Linked DNA regions of Homo sapiens: region 1 is linked to region 2. Evidence: promoter capture Hi-C in 16 types of primary human blood cells and fetal thymus (Javierre and others, 2016). All regions are on one chromosome and are shown on one strand. The core of a region is centred on a gene start or on the middle of the fragment in contact, and the rest is flanking DNA. Distances in the headings are between cores, read along the strand shown.

The links. Contacts are between HindIII fragments. The CHiCAGO score rates a contact against its expected background, and 5 or more counts as called.
Region 1: a fragment that was not itself captured here is called in contact with the fragment with the promoter of CKMT2 in region 2 in 2 of 17 cell types (endothelial precursors and M1 macrophages); the score reaches 5.6 in endothelial precursors.

What each region holds. Positions count from the first base shown.
Region 1 is chr5:80,710,257-80,716,314 of GRCh38, forward strand. The region is part of intron 8 of MSH3 (mutS homolog 3); the gene reads left to right. Among named protein-coding and RNA genes, the nearest start is that of DHFR, 58 kb to the left of the region's middle. The HindIII fragment of the contact is 1,363 bases long and covers 1,773-3,135 here.
Region 2 is chr5:81,231,093-81,236,943 of GRCh38, forward strand. CKMT2 (creatine kinase, mitochondrial 2) reads left to right here and starts at 2,230. Exons shown (of 10, transcript NM_001099735.2): 1 at 2,230-2,285. The HindIII fragment of the contact is 4,095 bases long and covers 790-4,884 here.

The DNA.
Region 1 (6,058 bases), core at 1,204-3,703, 520 kb before region 2:
AAGTGGCAAAACTGGAAGTTGATACAGACTTCCTGGCTCTAAAGCACACTATGTCATACAGCCTCTCAGGAAAAACACAGAAGGGAGCAGCTATTCCCTTCCTTCACCTTTACTTTTGACTGCAAAAGGGGTAATATTTTATAGCACAATTAAAATTATTTTGGTTAATATTTTATGAAATTTCTTTCCCTTATAATGCATATTACAGTCTGAATTTCTCTCTGGTGGTAAAGTTTCTGACAAAGCATCTGTGCTTAAAACAAAGCAGCTTTATTTATGAAGGTATTTCTTTACAAACCACAGCCCTGGTATCCAGCAGAAAGCATGGGTTGTCTTTACATGTGGTTATTCTTCTGGGAAAGCATCTTAGAGGAGGTGAGCCTTGACCTGCTTGTTAACTGAGAATATGTGCACAGGTCTGGGGTATAGTATGTGTAGATTCGTGGTAAAAAGACTTGGGATTGTGAGGGGCTGAAAGATTACGAAAGGATAGGGGTTTTAAAATATTATTACTAAGGAGTTCTGTCCTTAGAAAAGATTTCTAGGATCAAGAACCAAGAGCTGGACGATGATGACAACAGGCAGAAATGAGTGGCTTCTCTCAGCCCTTGACTTCTCTGCCATTCCCTCCCCCTTCGAGTGTTCCCCTTTCCTTTGGTTTCCAAGTTGCACGCTGATCCTCTTAGTGTTTTTAACCTCATTGCAGACAGAAGTACTTTCCCATCAGGTTTGCCAAGACAGACTAGAATTTTTTTGTTAGAATTTTACCTTTAAAAACAAAACCAAAACCAACCATTACAAAAGAAGCAAAGGTATAATCAAAAGTGTAGAAAAAACTAGAAAAAAAGTTTTAGAACAACACGAGTTTACCTAGTATAGACTTTCTGCCTTATGGTAATACCTCCTGTCTCTCTTAGCCTTTTGAACAGCCCAGCTCTCATTGTGCTAGCCTTGAGTCTGAGGCCCCATGGAGTTCCCATAGTGGGGAAATTCTCAATCCTCCCTTGCTCCCAAACAGGCCTCTCCTTTGCGGATAGGTCCTGGTGTGTTTCTTCACCTCAGGCCTCTTTAAGCCTGAAGAAGCGTGGGCCCTACATCTGCTTTTAGTTTTCAGTCCCTTGTGGTAAGTTGGCTAAGGCCCTTTCGCCTCTGTTGGTAAGGAGGGGTTTTTTGGGCCTCCAGAACCTCCCACAGGTGCTGTGTCTTCCTGTTGGCTCATTCCGAGGAGGACTCACCAGCTGACTGTCAAACTGGGTCTTCCTCACCTTGGTTCACTGTTGGCCATGTGGACTTCAGTAGGGGCTGCCATCCTTCTAAGAAGCTATGCGATTGTGTCTATTTCCTTCTCTGGACAGCAGGAGACCCCTTTTTGAAGACAGCACATTTTCTTTTTTTCTTCTTTTTTTTCTTTTTTTTGACATGGTGTCTCATTCTGTTGCCCAGGCTGGAGTACAATGGTGTCATCTCGGCTCACTGCAACCTCCGCCTCCTGGGTTCAAGCGATTCTCCTGCCTTAGCCCCCTGAGTGGCTGGGACTACAGGCCTGCACCACCATACCCAGCTATTTTTGTATTTTTAGTAGAGACAGGGTTTCACCATGTGGGCCAGGCTCGTGTTGAACTCCTGACCTCAAGTGATCCACCTGTCTCGGCCTCCCACAGTGCTGGGATTACAGGTGTGAGCCACCACGCCCGGCCAGCACTACACTTTCTAATGAGTTTTTATTGAAAAAAATTTTAGTTGAAAATGAAGCTGTTGGCTCGTAAGTGAAAAGCTTGAAGGCAGGCTGGAATCAGGCATGGCTGGAATTGGGCATGGCTGGTTGTAGGGGCTCTGCTCTTTCCTCTCCTCCTGTGATGGCTGCCTCCTGGTGTTCCACAAGGTGGCAGGATGCTCCAGTGCTCTGTCCTGACTCCCAGCCTCCAGGGTTCTAGTCCAGGGAAGAGGACCAGCATCTCCTTCTGGGAGCTCCTGTATAAATCCTGTAATCCATTTTTTCTCTTCTTTCTCTTTTCTAATATGCCATTTTATTTTTTAATAAGTTGTATATTTTAGTTCAAAAAATGGAAAGTATTTTAAAAAGATTATGAGGTAAAGAGTTTCTTCCATCCTGTCCCTTTTACTATTATAAAAACACCCTTCATTGTCCTGTTTTAATGGTTTTTATTCGAATTTTATTTTTCCTGGTAATAAGATTTGATCTCATACTTTCTTTTTATTTGTATTCACCTAATATATACCTCTAGGCAGTTGTTGTTTTTCAGCCATCTTTTTAATTTGTAACCTTTCTGAATTACTTTGTTTTGGATTGCACTCCTATTTGTAGCATAGAATTTTGGGGTTTTTTTCCCCTCTGTGATCCAATCTGAATTTAATTTTCTTTTAATAGGTGAATTTAGCCCTTTAATATGTCAGATATATTTGATATTAGTTTATACTATTTTGTGTTATATTTTCTATTTTTATATCTTTTAAATAATCTTTCACGATGTGATCTGTTTTCTTTGCATCTTTTTTTTTTGTTGGTTTTGTCCTGGTGGTTGGTTTTAGAATTATAATTTCAAATAATGCCCTTAGTCTTCTAAGAAAGTGGTGGTTGTTCCCTACTGTGAGCACTGATAAAATTAATGAGTTTCATAGTAATTCTAATATGGAGATATTAAAGCCAGGTTACCTTGTCTGTCCTACTCAGTCAAGAACCCTGTTTCATTCTGTCTTCAGAGGAGAGAATGAATTACTCGGCTTGGAACTCATCAGTGCTATTATTACCAATGAGTTCACTGTCAGAGGGGGCCTTGTAAGTTTTCCCAGAGGATACTGTCCACCTTTAACAAGGCTCTTTTTGTCTATGAGTTTCTAAAGTCGGTATAGATCATGCAATTGGTAAGCTGACATTTGTTTGTTCACAGTTGAACATTAGTTCAGAGTCTCTGTTGGTGGTCTGTTATTTGATGCCAGAGAGTCACCAGTTTTATTTCCAAGCAGACATTAAAAGATATTATTGGTTCTGAAGTTCCCTTGTTTTAATGTGGGCTCAACACTTGCTGAGAGAGCATTTAGTTTTTCAAAAGCAATATGGTAGGCAACAGAGAGGCATGTTACATGTGAAAAGGATTTCTTTTTTTTAAAATTAGAAGCTTTAATTTAACCGTCTAGCTTGGCATGCCCTGTGTAATGACTGAGAGACCGAGATGACTGTCTTGTTGTGAGTCCCACCAACAAGGACAGAAGGGAGGTTGCCACCTTGGGAGGAGCACATCTTCTGTTCATGCTCCTCTCCATTCAGGAGGCTTCAGCCCCACAGCACAAATAGCCTCTGTAGCGGTCAAGGGAATGTGGTTTTATAATTTTTTAGATCTGGGTCAATTATATAATCATAGATAACTTAATTTTTTTGATGCAGTGGTATTTACTGTCCACCTCTAATAAAGCAGGTGAATCATAGACTACCATTGGATACATGTCTTTGGAGCAGATTTCCATCCATTTTTACTCCAGTCCTATGGTGGCTACCGGTATTGTTCTTGTCGCCTGCTATTCTTAAGTCTGCAGTTTGCCTGTGACTCACCCCAGGAAACCTGTTGAAAATGCTCGCTCTCCTCTAACTTCCTGCTGAATTCAGATTTAGCACCTTTCGGGTGGGAATCTGTACTTCTTTGCAGGTGACTCTGATGCCGGTGTCCCACAGACTACAGTTTGAGGAAATCAAGACTGACAGTTCTGCAAGGTTTATTACCCTTTAATTTTTCAAAAAATACCTTCAGCAACAGAGAGGCATGTTACATATGAAAAGGTTAAAGTAGAAATTTTCCTAAAATCTATGTGACAGAATTCTGGTAGGATGCTAGGCATGTGTGCAGAATTTCAAATAGACTTTTTTTTTTTTTTTTTTTTTTTGAGATGGAGTCTCACTCTGTCACCCAGGCTAGAGTGTGGTGGTGCAATCTTGGCTCACTGTAACCTCCGCCTCCCGGGTTCAAGCGATTCTCCTGCCTCAGCCTCCCGAGTAGCTAGGATTATAGGTGCCCACCATCACACTCGGCTCATTTTTGTATTTTTAGTAGAGACAGGGTTTCACCATGTTGGCCAGGTAGGTCTGGAACTCCTGACCTCAGGTGATCCGCCCTCCTGAGCCTCCCAAAGTGCTGAGATTACAGGTATGAGCCACCACGTCTGGCCCAAATAGACTTTTGTTTCAGAGATACAGTGATTTGAATTTATCATAACGTTCTTTAATTAAGAAATCCAGGAAAATAGAGATAGGAGATTTTATAACTTTAACCAGTTTGAAAAAATATTTATGTGAAGATGGTTTAATATACAGATTGCAGAACGATGAATTTAACATTCTTGTAAAGCTTCCAGGAAAGCCTCAAGGATAAGTGACAAGTCCATTTTTATCAAACTTAATGGGTTTCTAAATCCTTATCTGCTTATCAAACAAAATTTTAATTAGAACTGTAATTGAGTAACCAGCTGCCTCTTGTGTTCACTCTAGGAACTTGTCTAAAAACATTGTGGAGCTCATGTAAGGTCATTCGTTTTTGAGTTGCTAAATAAACTTTATTGCAGACTTCTAAAAATCCAGGTATTGAGGAAGTCTACAGGAAGATAAAAATTGATAAGAACTTTGCAGTAGTTAGTCCGATACTCTCTCTCTCTAGTGGATTAAGGTAGAAAAATCCTTCTTCAGCACCACAGATGGGAGAATATCCTCCCTCTTAGGTTTCTTCCTGAATCAGCTTATGCCTGCCTAGGCTTGTAGTAGAACAGATAAAGCCTTTGGACCTAGCTACTCTTGGTTTGAATATCTGTTAATCTGTTATCTCTTCATTACTTTGGACATTGTACTTAATGTCTCAAGTTCAATTTACTCATTTTTAAAATGGGAATAATGCCGCCCACAGCAAGGAGAGCCGTAGTTCTGGAACTTGTACTCATTCATTCCTTTATTCAGCACTACTTTATAGGTTGAGTACCTGTTTTATACTAGGCACTGTTCCAGGCATTGAATACAGCAGAAATAACACTGACAAAAGTTCCCATCCTCATGGATCCTAGTGAGCAGAGCCATTTCACACCAGGTGATCGGGGAAAGTTTCACTGAGATGATGACTTGAATGGAGACCTGAGGAAGGTGAGGGAGTCAGATCACCATAAAAAATTACTTTTTAACATTATTATTATTTTTCTTTACTATTTTCTGCTTAATCCTACTAGAAAGTAAGCTCTATGACAGTGGTGGGTGGGGGGTGGTATTTGTTTTGTTAGAGAATTTTAGATGTGCTCTGTTGTATTAGTTTGTTCTTGCACTGCTATAAAGAACTACCTGAGACTGGGTAATTTATAAAGAAAAGAGGTTTAATTGGTTCAGGGTTCCATAGGCTGCACAGGAAGCATGGCTGGGGAGGCCTCAGGAAACTTACAGTCGTGGCAGAAGGTGAAGGGGAAGCAGGCAAGTCCTACATGGCTGGAGCAGGAGGAAGAGAGAGGGGGAGGTGCCATACACTTTCAAACAACCAGATCTCATGAGAACTCACTCACTATCACAAGAACAGCAAGGGGGAAGTCCACTCCCATGATCCAGTCACCTCCCACCAGGTCCCTGCTCCAGCACTGGGGATTACAATTTGATACGAGATTTGGGCAGGGACACAAATTCCAACCATATCATATATGGAAGCACTTTTCCTGATCACAGAAATGGGGAGCTATTGAAGGAGTCAGAGGGCAAGTGCAATGTCTTCATCTTTAGTGCTCTCTCTGGCAGCAGTGTGGTACAAGGGCTTGAGGGGTAACGTGCAGTAGGCACTCCATAAATGTCTGCTAAGCATTTTTAAAAGTGATCATTCTGCCATTCACTATGAGCCATAAGAGTAGCTGGTAGAAATGCCTGTGAATGTTTAAAAGCATTATATAGACTCTATTTCAGAATTGTGTTGACTAATAAAAAATGCTAGTTTTCCCTACCCCACACCTATCTTTCAACTGCTTTATATTTATTTCTTTATTAGATAGAAAATTCCTCAGTAAACTTTTATTTAGAGTAATTCCTCTT
Region 2 (5,851 bases), core at 980-3,479:
TTTCTTTGCAGTGCTTAGATTCTTCCTGTGACATCCCCAGCCTATATTTGATACCTCCAGGCACAGAGAACTCACTACTACCTGGAACAGCTCAGTCCATTGCACAGCAGCTCAACGCTCCTGAATGGGTGGTGGAGAGAGGAGAAGCCGCCAGGGTAGAGTCCTGGCCTAATAGTCACCAGGCTCCACCTAGGAGGGGCTTCTGAAATAAGACTCCTGTCTACCCCTAAAATAACTGCAGTGGTTATATGGATTACTATATATGAAAATACTTTAACTTCTATGAAGTTGTGGCAACATTTAGAGCTGATGGAATTAAGTTACAGTTGCTGGACACAAGAATAGACTAAGGAAAGGGGTCCCTCCTGCCCAATTCTGAAATGAGCAATCCAGGCTGGTGCGACAGAGGAACCCAGGTTCCTTTCATCCTATTACTTGCTCATCCCACAAGGCGTCATCCTTGCCTTCGAGGTCAAATCTGGGGCCTGCTCTAGCCACACTCCTGCTGGACTCAGGAACAGAAAAGAGAATAAGTCCAGGACATTTTCCTTTAAAGCAAATGATATGGCAGTCGCACACTTCAATTCTGTTCCTGCCCTTATGGCAGAAGCCAGCCACAGGGCAGCCTGGTGTGGCTAGAGCCCCAGAGCTTCAAAAGGAGTTGGTAACGATGAGAAGGGAATAGATGCCATGTGACAGGGATGGCATTTGAAAGATTTCCAGAAAGCCAGAATTTCTACTGTGAGTCCCTTGTAGAGATTTCATCCCCATCACACCACCTTTATAATAAGCTTGAAGAGGACCAGTCCCCCAAAAGAAGGGTGGTACCCTCTTTTCTCAACAATGACCCAATTTTTCTTCTGACCTTACTAACATAAACATTTACTCTATAAAATATAAGGTGTTGAGGTCGGGTGAGTGGAGGGGGCCCTAAATGTTGATTAGGCAATTGGGGAGGAAAAGGAGGTTTTTGCTATAACTGCCATTCTTTAAATCTACAATTCCATGCTCTTTAAAAGCCTTATAATTTTCTGGATCTGGGAGCTGGGCTATTTCAGGGTCAATGGATTTATTTCAGTTGGTGCCTGAACTGACTTGAAACAAGTGTGTGTGGAAAAGAGCTATTTTGAGAAGGAATAAACCGAGACTGCCCTGATGATAGAATATGCAAGCTGGTGGGTCTTGACTCCTTAAAGGATTATGAAATTAATTTGATTGGTCCCAATCTTTATATAACCACCCCAATCAGGAAACTTCCCATCCCGCCAAAAGGCCCCCTCACGTGCTCTCCCTGTCAGTACCCCATGCAAAGGTAAAATAGATGATATTTTTAAACATGGGTCGTGTTTAAAAGAAATGGAAACTCCTTCAGAGAATGAAGGAGAACCACACTGGGTAGAAGGTTATTCCTGGGGCTCCACCCCTTGCTCCATCAAGTCCTCTGAGCATGAGCTGGGCTCTGAGAAGGAAGAGACAGGAACCAATTGGTCATGTCCACGTGGCCTCAGAAGCTGAGTACGTGACGGTCACCAGATGCCTAGGCAGGCTCCCTTGAAATGGCAGGGCTGCTGTCCAAAATCCTGCTGGGTCATTGCTATTTACAGGCAGCCTTCCCGGCGTGCGGTGGATATCCCAAGCGGGGCTATTTTTAAGCAGGGCTATGGCCTGCCGTGGGTTAAGCTGGTGTGGACAGAAAGCGAGATGATCTAGCCATCTACTGCAGGGGGCCTGATCTTGAACAGAAACCTGACTGTAATTGTCCCTGGATCCAGGTCCCAGACAAAGACGCTGGAAGGAGGTCCCTCCAGCCCCTGGCTCAGGGCCCGGTCAGCTGCTGGAGCCAGGCAGCTTGAGACATCCTCCTCTCCGACCTTGGCTTGAGGGGTTCATCCTCCAGAGCTCACCAGGGCCCCAAGGCTGGTACACCTGAGAGAAGAGAGAAACAAATCCCCCAACAGATGTGCAATTTCACCTGCTGGCCCTTCCATTCTGAGATCCAGAGCCCTGGCAAAGGAGCCTCCAGGACCAGGCCTGGGAAGCAAGACTGGCTCCGCCTTTTACGTTTCAGAGAAAGGGCAGGTGCTATAAAGGGCCCAGCGCCCACGGGCCTGCCTTCAAGGGTACAGCTGTGGGGGCCGGTGCGCCCGGAGGTCTACGCTGGGATTGGTGAGGTCCTCTGGCCCCGCCCCGCCAGGGAGGATTTCCAGGCCGGCCCGACCAGCTCGCCCTGCATACACTTCTTGGCTGTGTGCGCTCAGCAGGACGTGGGAGGCTCCGGCTTCAAGGTCGGTGAGTCCGTGAAACTCTGCTTTATTCCTCCAAAGAGGGGTCATGGCTAGAGCCAGTGTGAAGGGCCTTGGAGGAGTGGATGCCGGGCTGTAGACGGGGACCCCGTTAGGACGCTGACTGCGAGGAGGCAATGGTGACTCGCTAAAGCCAGCAGAGCTCCCGCCCTTGGCCGAAGCGACCCCTCCTCCCTGCACACAGGTGGGGGCAGCTCAGCACCAGGAGCAGAACAAATCAGCACGCTGCCTGCAGGGCCTCTTTTTGGTAGTGAATCAGGAATTTTTCTCGATGGAAAAAAAAATCTAAAGGCTGTATTTTGACGCTAAGTTTGGGACAACTTTAAACTTAAAGTGTCTTTCCCTTGTAATTCACAGAGTCTAATCCACTCATTTCTGGGAATGTTTTTCCCCAGCAGTCTCAGTCTCAAAAGACATGTAAATCAGTGACTTGGGATGAACTAACTAGAAAATTAAAATTTTGAGAAGCTATTTGCTCATAAGCCCAATAGCCAGGCCCAGTTTAAACGGGCAAATAGTATTGCTAGAGATTCAGTTTTGCCGTCACTAATACTAACACATTGATAATGAGACAAGTAACCGTCTCCCCTCCCCACCATCCTTACCTTTCCCACCGGAGGTTAATTAAAAAAAAAAAAAAAAAAAAAAAAACCTATGGAATTGGCCCCACGTGTTTCACCTGGGCAGAGGCCTGTTCTTCACTAGCTTGCTTGCTTGGTTGGTTGTCCCGGGGTTAAAATCAGTCCTGTTCTTGCCCCTAGAGTGGTCTGCCTTCAAATGCTCTCCTCCGAATGTGAGGAAGAGTGACATTTGACAAACAGACCAAAACCTTTAGGTCTCCTCAGTGCTGCCCTTTAGACCTTCCAGAAAGTGTTGCCAGGCTCGTGACCCCTCACAGTGTCAGCTGAGTCAAGTGAGGGGCAGTTAGTGGCCCTCAGGACAAGGTTACGCTAGGTACACCAGTGTGCTGTTTCCAGAAGGGCTGCTTTTCCTGTCTACGGCTCTCACATTTTCTCTGTTCTGAACTCGTGTCCTTGGTCTGTTCTCTCTGTCCTCTCATAGAGGCGAGCATGGCCACAGCATGTGGCCAGAGACTTCCTGACAGGCAGGCTCTTCCGGGAGGCTCTTGGCCTTGTTTGGCGGTCTGAGCACTTCACTTCCTCTGCATTGATAGGCACCTTTTCCAAAGACCCCAGACTTTGGAGTTAATCACGCCTGTGGGTTAAGGCACTGTCACAGCAAAGCACAGGAGTGCCACATGCACCCCATGGACTCTGCCAGCCTCATGACCAAATCATATCATTAGGAAATGGGCCATAGGCAGGTCAGTTTTCCTAAGGAAACTGTGGGTTGGGTCGGGGGGAGTACCATACAGAATGGGGAGTCCTGGGGTTTCAGACACAGGAGGGAGACTGACTTTGCCCCTAGCTCAGAGGCCCTGGGCCTCCATCTCTGCCATAGCCTACAGCAGGCTCCATTTGTCTTCCCAAAGGAAGCCACGTAGAGTCTGTGTCAAGCATTCTGGGAGCTCCTGCCCACAGAGCCAGGAATCCAGCAGCAACCCATGCTGAAGGTGACTGCTGGAGGTCACACTAACCCTTGCCAGGAAGCCTCAGAGACTCCCTCCCTTGGGCGGGGAAGAAGGCAGCCCACTTCACAGCACTTCAAAGGACTAGATGGCTCCTAGCTTCCTGTTTTCTTGAAAACAATTTACCCTTGAGGGACAAAGTCTGGTAACGGTCCCATGCCTTCATCACAGGAGGCCTAGGAAAGGCCTCTGTTTTACAGAGTAGGATTCTAAATATCTCCTTCCTGCCTAGGACTGTCTATTTGCTGAGTAGAACAGTAATGCCAAGAGTGCCCATTAAGGTTGGCTGCGTACTAAGTGGTTTTGAGGTAACGCACACCCTTTGCTATCTTAGAACTGGGAGGAGACAGGCATTTTCTGCGGCCTAGGAGCCTGGCATCGTGAGAATTTGTTCAGAGTGTTCTGTGGAGCTGGTCCAAGCCCAAGGACATCCTCTGTTTTGGGGTGGCTCTCTGGATGGAAAGCTGACACGTGGTCCTCCTCCTGCCCTTCCACCTGCCCTCTGGCTGAGGAGTTCAGACACATGGACGCTGTGAATGGCTGGACCAGAAATAAATCTGAGTCAGCAGAAAGGCAGACATGGTCCATCCGGGATGCCCAGGAAGAGCAGGGGGCTCGGGCTGGAGGCAGTGACAGAACCCAAGGCCTCCTCTTCACATTCTAGGATGTCACAGAACCAGAGAAGAGCATTAAGACCAGGATCTGAACTCCCAGTATACCTGCCTGGGACCAAGAAATGTACAGCTTGTGGCCACTTAACAAAAGGGCTTGATGTAGCTGTCGTTGTTTTTTTAATGCGGAGGGCAGTGTAGGAACAAACAGGATATTATTGCTTTTGGCTCTGTCTGGCTGTGCTCTTGCACCTCCCCATCGCTCCAAATCTCCCTGGCTTGGAGCCCAGGTATTCTGCCAATTTTAGCCTAGATGCTGTAAGCAGTGTTTTTCAATTCAGGAGTCATTGTGGTGTTCCAGGTTAGGGAAACTGAGGCAGAAAGCTTCTATGGGGTGAGAGCTGGAGACCACCTTCCTCTTCACACTGGCACAGCATCCCTAGCAAGGCCTGGCAGGCACATTGAGCACTAGAGTCAGAGTGGAGCGGGCAGAGATATCCCTGGCGTCTGGGTTACTTCAGCGGGAGCCTGAGGACAGGGAAAGAGAACAAGTTTATAATCTGCAACTTTAGAAGTCATATGCCCTGAGGTGACAATCCTGTGCCTAGGAGCTGCTGTGTTAAATGCACTTCTACGGTCTTGGGGGTTTGACTGAGTGGAATGATCTGTGGCACCACAGGTTTTAAGCCACAGGGGTGGTTTCCCTCCAATTGCTGGTCAGTGAAGGGCTGTATGTGAGGTGCTGCGGTCTGCAAGGAAGCTGAATCCAGTGCAAAAGACAAACCTGGGTTCAAATCCCAGCTCTACTAGTGTGCTGGCACTGAAACCTGGGGCAGGTCACTTCTCTTGAGCCTCTGTTTCCCCATGCCCAAAATAAAGCATACTTGGCAGGATTGTTACATAGACTGATTGTGTTTGTAAGGTCCCTTACATAATGCATGGCTCATGATAGGAGCTCATAAATGCTCAAAAAGAAGACAGAAGGTTTGACTCAGTCGGTGTATAGGGTTGGAAAGGATATTCCAGGGGAAAGAAAACACTCAAGCAAAGGCTCAGAGGTGGCAAAGTGAAGGACCTGTTCAGTGATGCCAGGAAGTCATTGGAGACACTGTTGGAGGGGTGGAGTCTGGAAGAAGAACTGGGGAGCCCAATTGGTTAAATCCATTTTGTGAACCCCGATGTTGGTTTTCAGAGGATGATCAGTAGATCTGAAAGTATGTGATAGACACCTTTGAAGTCTTGTCCGCAGAGATAGAAAATACAAATTAAAAGAAGGCAGCTGTGGTGGTTCACACCTCTAATCCCAGCACTTTGGGAGGCTGAGGCAGGTGGATCACTTGAGGTCAGGA